Regions from separate parts of the Homo sapiens genome. Here regions 1, 2 and 3 are each linked to region 4. Evidence: promoter capture Hi-C in human tissues and cell types (Jung and others, 2019). All regions are on one chromosome and are shown on one strand. The core of a region is centred on a gene start or on the middle of the fragment in contact, and the rest is flanking DNA. Distances in the headings are between cores, read along the strand shown.

The links. Contacts are between HindIII fragments. The study calls those that stand out against the background at their distance.
Region 1: a contact is called between a fragment that was not itself captured here and the fragment with the promoter of GRIK2 in region 4, in 1 of the 25 tissues and cell types used here (mesendoderm cells).
Region 2: a contact is called between a fragment that was not itself captured here and the fragment with the promoter of GRIK2 in region 4, in 1 of the 25 tissues and cell types used here (H1 embryonic stem cells).
Region 3: a fragment that was not itself captured here is called in contact with the fragment with the promoter of GRIK2 in region 4 in 2 of the 25 tissues and cell types used here (H1 embryonic stem cells and IMR-90 fibroblasts).

What each region holds. Positions count from the first base shown.
Region 1 is chr6:101,774,274-101,777,411 of GRCh38, forward strand. The region is part of intron 7 of GRIK2 (glutamate ionotropic receptor kainate type subunit 2); the gene reads left to right. Among named protein-coding and RNA genes, the nearest start is that of GRIK2, 380 kb to the left of the region's middle. The HindIII fragment of the contact is 5,236 bases long and covers 1-3,138 here.
Region 2 is chr6:101,809,586-101,812,434 of GRCh38, forward strand. All of the region lies in intron 9 of GRIK2 (glutamate ionotropic receptor kainate type subunit 2), which reads left to right. Among named protein-coding and RNA genes, the nearest start is that of GRIK2, 420 kb to the left of the region's middle. The HindIII fragment of the contact is 5,014 bases long and covers 1-2,849 here.
Region 3 is chr6:101,744,759-101,747,471 of GRCh38, forward strand. The region is part of intron 7 of GRIK2 (glutamate ionotropic receptor kainate type subunit 2); the gene reads left to right. Among named protein-coding and RNA genes, the nearest start is that of GRIK2, 350 kb to the left of the region's middle. The HindIII fragment of the contact is 6,459 bases long and covers 1-2,713 here.
Region 4 is chr6:101,392,413-101,395,221 of GRCh38, forward strand. GRIK2 (glutamate ionotropic receptor kainate type subunit 2) reads left to right here and starts at 1,296. Exons shown (of 17, transcript NM_021956.5): 1 at 1,296-1,425. The HindIII fragment of the contact is 9,322 bases long and covers 952-2,809 here.

The DNA of each region.
Region 1 (3,138 bases), core at 61-2,560, 380 kb after region 4:
AATATAAACAACATTGATGAATATAAATTTTTAAATGCAAGTACCTAATCTGAGCTGCAAATATCAAGATAATTGGATGTATTGGAGACCAGCTGGAAGTGCAAAGAATACTTCCCCTTGGTATTGACTCTTCTCTAAATCAATAGCGGTTCCAAATGTAGTAAAAAGCGGACAAGATTTAACAGGTTCTAAATTATTAAGGCCAGTGCATTGTTGCTAGAGAGTTCATTAACAATCTCATCAATACAATGTGGTTCATGGACATTAGTAAGAGCTTTGTGTAACATTTTAAAACAGAATGAGATATCTCAATGGACTGATCTTAGTAAAAAAAATTTAATTAGGTAAGAATAATTACATTAGTTAAATGGAACTTTTAATTGAAAACTTGTTGGCATTTTCTTACCTGCTTCACAGCTGTCCTTTAATCATTTATATTTAAAAAGTGAAGAGTTTCTGTACATGATGTTTGAAAATTATCTAAACATCTTGGACTTTTTGTATAAACGTTTAAAGGAGTTTAGATAATGTGGCAGTAAAAACAAATAGGATTTTCTGCTTGCGGAATGGTACATTTAAAAGATATATATATCAGAAAGAAAAGTTATAGAGAAAATATGTATGGTAAGTATATACTATTCTTGGGAAAAAGGCAAAGTAGTCATTTTCTGAAGCTTTAACATTTATAACTTTAAAACTTCATGTATTGAACATCATTCCTTATGAAGCTTTAAAATCTTACAGGGAAATAATACTGTTTATAAAATTATCTTGTTAAAGAAAATGGTATCCAACAAGAGTTTTTGAAAGAATGAAAGCCCGTATTTGTGTAAGATAAACATAAAGGGCCAATGGAAACTCTTATTGTTAAAATTAGTGTCAGCCACATTTTAGGCTGTATTTACTGGTTGTTGTTCAAAATAAGCTAATTGGCAATCACTATTTTTTGGTAGCTTTCAGCTTAAGCCAGAGAGCACTGGTTTGGAGAGACATAGACATTTATTCAAATTCACAGGAACACTAAACAAATGGATTTGTTAATTATTCATGACATTAATTCTGGCCAAGACAGTTTCTTATCTGAATCTCAGCAACCACTATCACTCAGTGCTGCCTACTTTACTTGATCTTCAGAACATTGCTGAATTTGAATATTCTTCCTAATTCATCAATTTGTCTCTTCCTTTCAGCCCTCATGGGTACTCAATGACACACATGTAGAGACAAAAATCTTTATATATATATGTGTGTATATATATGTATATATATGTGTGTGAGATATATATATACACACACACACATTACTGTATAGTTTATTTATAATAAACTATAAATTCATTTAGAAACAAGACAGAGGCTGTACTCACATTCCCCGCCCCGGTCTGAGCTGCTGACAGATTTGGCTCATTGTATTTCTAGGAGGTAATACATTCTAGCTGTATGGCAAAGTGTGAAGATACAGATTTCTTCATATATATATGGAAACAATATATATATGTGTGTATATGGAAATTATATATGTGTATATATATGGAATATAGATATATATATATGGAGAGAGAGAGAGAGAGATGTGGTCTTACTTTGCCACCCAGGCTGGAGTGCAGTGGCACTATCTTGGCTCACTAAAAATTCATATATTTTTAAAGGTATTTCATCATGCAGTTTCTGAAATTTTCTTTAATGCATTTAATTTGTAATAAAATCTCTCTGGTAGTTCAAAAACATAAGTCATAAGCAGATTTGTGTTTTCACTGTGTAAGAGGAGGCAAAAGGAGGTAAAATGCTGTAATATTGGAGAATGACTTTGGGTAGGAAAGAAAGAATTTTAGTTTTCTTCTTCGAAGAATGAGGAGGCCAGGCTGAGATTTAATGTACATGAGAAGTTTAACAGCAATGAAGGTGAAACAACAAAGAAAAGACCATAATATAAATATTGGCAGGTTTTATTTGTTCAGGCAGTAATTTGCTAGGATATGAACACAGTCAATGGCCTAAGAATAATTACTTTTGATTACCCTTATTAATTTGTATGAAATGTTCATACAATAGTTTGTTAAGCAAGCACACAACATTATAAAGAATTATGGAGAGAGACAGACATATGTAGAATGTAAAGAGTAAATAATTATGCAGAGAAGACAGACAAATAAGGGTTATGGTTATATTACAAAACCGGTATAAAATCAGAGTAAAATGTGGATTTTCTAGTAATATGAATGTTAGCCACAGGATGCCTTAAAATCCACCTGATTCAATCCCCTCCTTTTATAGATGAAGAAACTGAAGACTAGAAAAAATAATAGTCATACTTGTCCAAGTTTACATGCTGTAGTGAAATTATCTGTGCAATAGCAGTCCTTCATTTAATATTAAATACAAGACATTATAATATTTTACCACTCATCTTTATTCTTGAATTCTAAATTTGTCAGTAACTTATATGTACTCAATTTTTTATTTTTTGGCATTCTGAGTTCAACTGAATTGTAGCGTCATGTACATAACACATTGTGTAGGGATCAGGTTATTATATGTTAATTTCCTCCATGCTCCTTTGCCATCTAGAACCTGATCTGCTGTTTTAAACAGCATGAGGCCTGTTCTCCCATTTAGGCTAACAGTGGGTGCAGAAGGGTTGAAGCATTATACTTTCTAAACTGGTTCCTTGTTCTGGAGAGTATCCATCTGAAGAGATTACCGCTCTTCTGGTGATCATCGCCATCATCGTCCAACACCTGCCTATGCACCATGTGCCAGGAATTGTGCGAACTGCTTTAATGTATTATCTCATGCAGTCTGTGTAGTCCACGCAGCTGCTGGTAAAGAACTCTGTTTCAGAGTAATACAAAGAGCCAGCAACAGAGAAAGCATAATGGCAGCTGCAGTGTAACTGGGAGAATTGTCTCTGACAATTGGCTCCCGACTGGGTCTGAGGGCATTTCTTCATCAGTCCCTCAGTTCAGCTAGCAGCCACCGCACACCTGCTCTGTGCTGGGCAGAGTGCTCAGTGCAGTGTGCCAGCTGAATGAGTGAGCACCAGCCTGTTCTCCATGTGTGACCCCCTCCTTCTTGCTCAGAGGGGTGGGCGATTGTCTGTCCCATTTAGGCTTGTGCTGACTGTGCAAGGGAGATCCC
Region 2 (2,849 bases), core at 270-2,769, 420 kb after region 4:
GTGCCCATGGCAACAGTGACCCCCAACTTGTCCAGGAACTGAGATTTATCTTGCCTTCCTCTACGAAAGCAATTTTAATGGTGATGTTAACTCGTAAACTTTAAATTAGTCAAAAAGTGATGTTTGCTTCTCTAAAAACAAAAATACTTCCTGGGCAGGATCCAAGCCTATTGCCTTTCTTTGGAGATGTTAGCCATTTAATTTGTCTAACTCTTATATAGAATTCATTATAAACCCTGTCTCAGAACTGTACCGACATTTTTGTGTGTCAGTGTGTATAGTTATTATTTTGTTTGGCAACTTTACACTTTCAGGACGATAAAATATTTCAGAAAACTATTTATGAATGATGTTTATGTTTAGAAATCAATCAGATTGCCTTATTTGAGGTCACAGAATTTATTGTTTTGGTTCCCAAAAAGTCTTATTTTGGCCCACCAATGAATATTAAATATTGGCTTTTTTCTTTTAACCACTAAATTTGAATTAACATATATATATGTATAAATTACAATTATGATATATATAACATAATTGTAATTGATTGATTTGATTTCAAATCAAATCAAATCTGACCTACATTTTTATCTGTGGAAAAATGGCTTTTAACTGAATGGTATCGTATTTTCATATTTGGGAACATGTAATTCATTAATTCAAACATTATTTAAAAAATCAAAATCACAACCTGTCTGTTAACTCTTTAATTGTGCTTAGCATTAAATTGCCCTAAACTAAAATAAAAATCTTAAATGAGAAAAATCAGTGTTTAGTTAGATTATTAATTCCTTTCCATGAGATGATTATATACTTACTGATTTATTGTACTCATATTAGCACTATAGTTCTCGAATGGTAAAATCCGAGATCCTATGCACACTAGTTGAGAGTTTCAGGACGCTGATTACGAAAGCGTTCTTTGCCCTATCCTTATAGGCCAATTAACTTATATCTGAAGGTCAGCCAATTTCCAGACAATTGCTCTGGACTCAAATTCTAGCTGGCAGGAAGCACATAGGCTTTGCTGTAAAATATTTCTTTTTGTTTTCTAGAGCTCAGGTGCCAATGCTTAAGTGCTCTCTTTTCAACACTTAGTTCAATGGAAGTAAACAGTTATTAAACTTCGGTGTCAAGGGTTATTAGACGGTAATGCAACTAACTATCTCTACTTTTCATTTAACTATTCATCATTTGAAGGAGTGAAGTAAGGAAAACAAAAGTCTCTAATTTCCCACTAATAGTGAGAAAACTAATCTGTTGAAAAAAATTTCTGTACCCAATATTCATGCATTGTATTGGCTTGAGAAACCCAGGTTTTCAGAAATAATAGGTATATGAGTTAATAGAGAAATAAACAGTCCACTAGTGTATATTCAGTCAATTGCAGGAAACATCTTTCATACGTAAATCAGCATTTAATATAAATCTCTTTCTTATGCTTTCTATTTCTCAATTCCCTCAAACAGTACTATCGGGGTGCCAACTTTTTTCCAAGGGAAGTAGTCAATATACTTCAAGGAAAACTATACTTTGTAGGTCATATGGTTGGGGGCAACTCATTACTGGAAAGAAATTTCTTTAAGCAAACATATTCTAAGATGGAGAGTCTGCATTGTGCTAAGACTGTTGGAAACCCATGTACAGTGTGGTTTCTCATTATCATCACACAGGATCTCTGTGGAAAACTATGGCTTATATTCTTTATTCAAGGCTGACACATTCTCCTGACATTAAGTCAAAACAATGTACAATCAAATAACTTTCTTTTTTACATTTTTACATTGTTGTCTAATGGAAAACTATATTGCTTCTTTTTCCATCTACCAACATCCAGTGAATATTTTGTGAGTCAATGCCAGTAAGAAAGTATAAAGAGAATTTTGATAGATTTGTATCAGGTATTTTTTAGTGGAGAATTTAAATTATTTCTTAATTTAAAATAAATTTAACTTTATTTGGAACTAATATTTTTAAAACTAACTGGGAATGTTTATTTTGTTCCTACTTGAAAAATTTCTTGTATACATATCAAGCAAATTATTTCCATAAATTTCATAGAAAATAAGAAATGTGTGACATTGATCCGGTGTACACAAAACAGAGCTAACATGCATCTTTAGAAGAAAAGATGCTACTTTCAGAGGTTAACAATTATATAGCCCAATAGAGGAAATAGAAACATTTTTTGGATTTAAAGTAGTAATATGAGTTACAAAACAAAATTTGTACTGAGAAAACTGTCACCAAAAATAAACAAATAAACAATAAAGAAGCAACTAATTAATAAGATAAATAATTTAAAAATTATTCTGAAAACTGTTGTTTTCTACCTAGAAAAAAATACACAGAAACCAAAGAGAAAATATACTTATAAAACAAAATTATATGAATAATTTACACATTCCTGAAAAACAAAACCTATAGTGTAAAATATTTATTTAAAATACTTATAAAATATAATTAGGAAAAAATGGAAATTCATAGTAAAGGTATGTGGCATAATATTTCAAACATTAAATATGATATTGAGATAGATCTTAAAACATTAAGAATAACACAAAAAACATGAAGATAAAATATGGAAAACAAAATATGTAATTATAAAAGAATAGACACATATGTATGTTCAACATTTGCCAAATGAATGAATGATATTGGAAAGTCAACCAAAAAAGTCTGAAAGTTTTTATCATGGAGTAATTCACTCACTTACTCTATTTATTTATTCAATAAATATTCATTGGATATTTATTATATAATTTAAAGATTGATGAAATGTTTCGTTTTGTGAAGGCACTTAGAGTTTAACACAGCAGGATCAATAAAAATGAAATATAATTTGGATTCAA
Region 3 (2,713 bases), core at 121-2,620, 350 kb after region 4:
TTAGTAGAGATGGGGTTTCTCTATGTTGGTCAGGATGGTCTCGAACTCCTGACCTCAGGTAATCCGCCCACCTTGGCCTCCCAAAGTGCTGGGATTACAGGCAAGAGCCACTGCACCTGGCCCACAGTTTCTTAATCCATTTGTTGATTGATGGGCATATGGGCTGGTTCCATATGTTTGCAACTGCAAATTGTGAGCACTGTTTAATTCTAAGCTTCCTTGTAGGTAAGGCAAAAAGCAAGCAAAGTATTTTAGGCAATTCCCATAACTAAAGGGAAATTATTTATTATATTTGTCCATTTGAAAAGATATTTTTTCATGTTGTAAAAAATTTATTAAATGAATGCTAACATAAGGATTAATAAACAACATGATCTTAACATTCTTCATGGAGTAATTTAGTTTTTTTCAATTTTTGATAAAAAGCTGAAGGTATATCAACTTGTTATTCAGTGAAAGGATAACTATTGGTAGCGAAATATAAACCTGATCTAGATTTGGAGATCAAAATTTTGGATTTATACACTTTAGGGAATATATCAGAATGAATAACCTTCACATCACATTGAGTACTCTATGAAGAATCAGTTACATGGGCTGGACTTTTGATCAGACCCTCATAGAAAACAGCTGAGCATGATGGGCCTGGCATTCTATTGATGATTACCAATACAGTCATGTATTGCTTAAAAAGCACCTGGCCAAGTTATACATATTATAAAGGCTTTTTGGTATTCTCGTTGAGATGGATTGAGAAATATTTTATATATATTTTTTGAGAAACGTTTTATGTATGAATAATAGATGGGCAATATGAAATCACAGTATAAAATTTAGTTTTCTTTCAACTAGTCTCAAAATTTCATGCCCATTACAAAATTAAAACTAAGAAAAAAAATTAGCCATGTTTATTTTTTCTTTTTCTGTTGTCAGTGTTCTTTTAACACCTTAGCTCTTCAGGGTGCTCTCCCTGCAGCTATATTTTTAGATGTTTCCCAGTTTCTCTCCTCATCAGGATCATTTAATATTGTAACACTTCAATTTTTAAATAACTCCATTTTAATATTTTGTGATTGAGCTATTTCACCATATGAGAATCTTAGGTCTTTCTGTTTTCTGAAAGTTTTGAAATATGACTTAAAGCTTGAACTAAATGTATGGTTATATCCCACAATTCTCGTCTCCTAACCACCCTTCCCCAAGATTATTCAGAATGTCAAGATAACAAATTATATTTCGCGGAGTCTCATCATTCCAACTTCACCACGAGTTTTTCCTTATTGACCCAAAGTAACTTTACTGCTTTCTCTGTTGTCTGAGGCATTAAATTGCCAGCCAGCTAGGCAAGTGAAGAAATTAATTTATTTAGTTGAATAATAATTCTAGGAGAATTGAGTACTGTTTTTTCTGTCTCCTTTCTATCATTTGTCTAACTAATCTCTCTAGCATTTGGTGGTATAAATACAGAATAGTCATCTATTTTAATCATCTAACCAGGTAGTGTATATCATCCTCACAAATAGTGCAACTTAGATTCCAGTCTTATTGTTAACATCCTGCTACCTTCAAATATTTTATTTATTTATTGAGACAGAGTCTTACTTTTTGCCCAGGCTGGAGTGCAGTGGCATGATCTCGGCTCACTGCAACCTCTGCCTCCTGGGTTCAATTGATTCTTCTGCCTCAGCCTCCTGAGTAGCTGGGATAACAGGCATGTTCCACCATGCCTGGCTAATTTTTGTATTTTTAGTAGAGGCAGGGTTTCACCATGTTGGCCAGGCTGGTCTTGAACTCCTGACCTCAACTAATCAGCTCACCTCAGCCTCCCAAAGTGCTGGGATTACAGGAGTTAGCCACTGCGCCTGGCCTACCTTCAAATTTTTGTCTCAGTGGATAAGACAGATTTTGTTACCCATTTTCTTCTTCAAATTGACTTGTTTGTTCTATTAAGATATACATTTTCACTTCCACTTTCTAATATTGAATCCCTCAGTTTCCCTTTGTAAATACATATGTGCATATGTGTATGCACACACACACACATATATACTCCCAAACACACCCATATATTCTTTATTGTAATACCCCGCTTGTTGATATATAGTTATGGGAGGACAAAGGTATTTTCTGTAATATGGTTGTGTTCTCCTATGAATGCTTTGGGAAATTCCCTAATGTTTTTCTATCTGTGTCATATCTATTATATTTTTATAACCCTTGTTAACATTTTAATATTATTTTTATTTTCCCATAAATTTTATGTTTAAATCTTCTGAATTAGATCAGCAGTTCACCAGAGAAATAAGTCTTCCGTGTCCCTTTGAAAATACTTTCTAAGTCACAAATCCCCACCAAGTTTGGTATCTTAAATCATGATTCTGCCACCATCTATATAACCAGCTGCTCAGCATTTTTCCTTTCCTAAATCACACATTGAATGGGAGGAAGAATTTTAACACTTGGAACCCTTTAAAGGAACCCTTTAGCTTTCTGCCTAGGATGTCATGAATTCTAAAAATGGTTTGCATGTGTATTATGATGGCATCATTCATACCCACATGAATCAGCAGGCATGGATAGTTGTCAGCAGGTGTGATAAGGCTTGGCAGTTTTTCCATTATGTCCTGGATACATGCTGCAGAAAGGCAATGGCTTTTCTGTTTGGCCATGTCAAGTCTACATAAAATTTACTCATTCTCCTTGGTGAATGACT
Region 4 (2,809 bases), core at 46-2,545:
CTTTATGCAGCCCGTTTGAAATGGTCTCTTGAGCCCAGTGCGCCTGGCCTGTTCCCGCTTAGCCTCACTTAAATCTCCTCGCGAATCTGAGCTGGCCAACTTCCTCTGGGGGAAACTGCTAAACTCAGCTCCAGTTAATATTGTAGGGCTGAGGATAAAATAGCAACGGTTTTGAATAGATGTTGACTTTTCCGACCCAGAGGAGCGGAACTCAGGGATTGTTTGCAAAAGCTAATCGTTTCCACAGTGAAGCAGGGAGAGCCTGGTGCGCTCACCGCCGCCAGCCCCTCCCTGGAAGCCAAGCTGCGGGAAGACTCTGGGACTCAGTTGCCCCTCCCCATCTCTGGCCTTTAAAAGAGTCCTCCCGAGAACTTGGACCAGTGGCCGCCAAACCAGGGCTGCTTCCCAGACTCCTGTCTCCAATCTTGGAGTCTGCGACCTCAGGTTCGGCGCCCACTAGATCTCGAATCCAACTTCTTTCTGAAATGTGTTTAGGTTGAGAGTTCCGGGGCCTGGGCGGGAGTTTGGTGGGGAGAGGGGAGTCTGCTATTTAAGGCGCCATACATACACAGAGACAGCCCGCCCGACCTCCTAACACTCAGGAAAAGTCAATTTCCAAGCATCTGTTCTCAATAATGGTGGCAGGGAGCAGGGCACTGTGACTCCCAGCATCTGAGGGAATACCCGCAGCAGCGCTACCAGAGCGCATTTGCTCTATGCGCTGGAGGTCGGGGTGGGAGGGTGCGCAGATCAAGATCTTTTTTTGCGAACCTCAGGGAAATGACCGTAGTTGGACTAAGAGGTCCACTTTGGAGACTACCAGCAGCCCTCCAAGCCCTGGCAGTGGAGAAGTTTCGTTGCTATGGTTTCGGAGAGGCATAAAAGCCATCACCCAGAAGCAAATGTGTTTGGGCTCCTTATATGTGTTGTCACCACCCAAGGCTAGGCAAATTCCTCGGCGCTTTGCATGCATCACTCACTCCCTGACAGAGCATCTTGGCCTTAGTCTCCCCATCCCAGGAGGCGGGTGTGCGCTAAGGGAGCGAAGTCCAGCCGGAGGCTTCGTAACATCCAAGTCTAGGGACACCAGGAATTCTCTCGCTCTAGCTCCTGTGGTCCAGGGGTGGGAGATGCCCCCGAGTGGCCGCGGCGGCCAGGAGCGTGCAGGGGCCACGGGGAAAGGAGCGCGGCGCCTTTAAAGCAAGAGGCGAGGAACCCCCGCCAGGAGGCGTGTCTGTCTCTGCCGCCGCCGCCGCCGCTGCTGCTCCTCGGTCACCGTCTTCGCCGCTGCCGTCACTCGCGCTCGGCGCCGGCGGCTGCGCTGGTCGGTCTGGTAGCTGGGGACTTTTCCGCCCGACCTCCTCCGGCTGCTCCTCCCCGAGGACCACCCCACCCCCTCCCCGCCCACCTCACCCCTAGCTCCAGGTAAGGACTCCCCGGCTGTGGGCTGCACTCCGGGCTCCTTCACGAGGTGTTTGTTTTCAAGAGGACGGGAGGGACTGCGGGTGGGCGAGGGGCATTTTCCACCTGGAGAGAAGGAAGAAGGCGAACAGTAGCGCTGCGGACGTCCGTGCGCTCGGGGCGCCCGCTGGACGGATTCACTGCGAGTCTTTGTCGGGCTTATCTCAGCCAATTCCCGTCAAGCATGCAAGTGGCTCTGTTGGCTGCAGTCGCCTATGTTCTCCACATAAAATGATTTAAGAAGTGGACGTGTCAGGAAGTGGCCTCAGCTACGGGGACTCACGCGAGGCGAAGAGAATGAGACAGATGGCAAGAAGCTGTGTGGCTGCCGGCGGGTCTGACGAACTCCCCATCCCTCCTTCTGCCCACCCATCCTTCCATTAACCCTACTCCTTAGTTCTGCGCTGAGGAAGTATATTTATTTTAACCGGCACCCGTATTAAGAGCTTCTGAAAAAACTTGGAGGGCGTCCCATTAGGGTAAGGAGTGGGCAGTGTTACCAGGGTGGATCATAAACCTCAAGAACTTTTAACGAACCACATCCTCTGATATTTTTACCTTTAAGGAGATAGAGTTTCTTTACCAAACAACACGACCGAGCTGAGGCTCCTTAGAGAATAATTTCCAATTTAGGCAATGGGGAATATTAGAAAACTTACTATTAGTAGCCTTTTGGTAATGCACAGATTATCTTCTATCGTTTATTCATCTCCATACTGTAAGTATTCTGTCATCAGAAATTATCTTATGGATTGATGATTATTTTCATTTCACGAGAGATGATTGGTTCATTTGAGTCTTAATTAGTCAGTTTAGTTACTGAAATAAATGCAATTGTATTTCAATCTTGATTTGTCTTAGTTCATTACTTTCTAACTTTATAGAGTCTATTCCTGTAACCACCAAGGCAGCCTATCAACTTCCAGTGGCCTTAAAAACTTTTGAGTCAAACAAACAACAAAAAATTGAAATGCACAAGAGCAAGGTGATAGAGAATTGAGCAATGTTTGGAAGTCTTATCTGTTTGTTTTCTCCTATTTAAACCCATTGAAAATCACACAGGCTGAAATTTAAAAAAAAAAGTTCTGGGATATGTAAATTTATTCCACTTCAATTTGTTAATTAAGATACACTTATTTTAGTGTCTAAAAATTAATCAAAACTCTAAATGTCATTAATCATCAATGCAGCAGAATGTTGCTGGAACAGCTGATAATGTGTTCAGAATCATAAGGGATACCACAGCATGCATAGTTAAGAAGAGTGAGTTGCAAGTATGCAACAGTGTGATTTCAACTGAAACCTGACTCAGTCCTGACTTTATTCTCTGAGATCTTTAATGCCATGT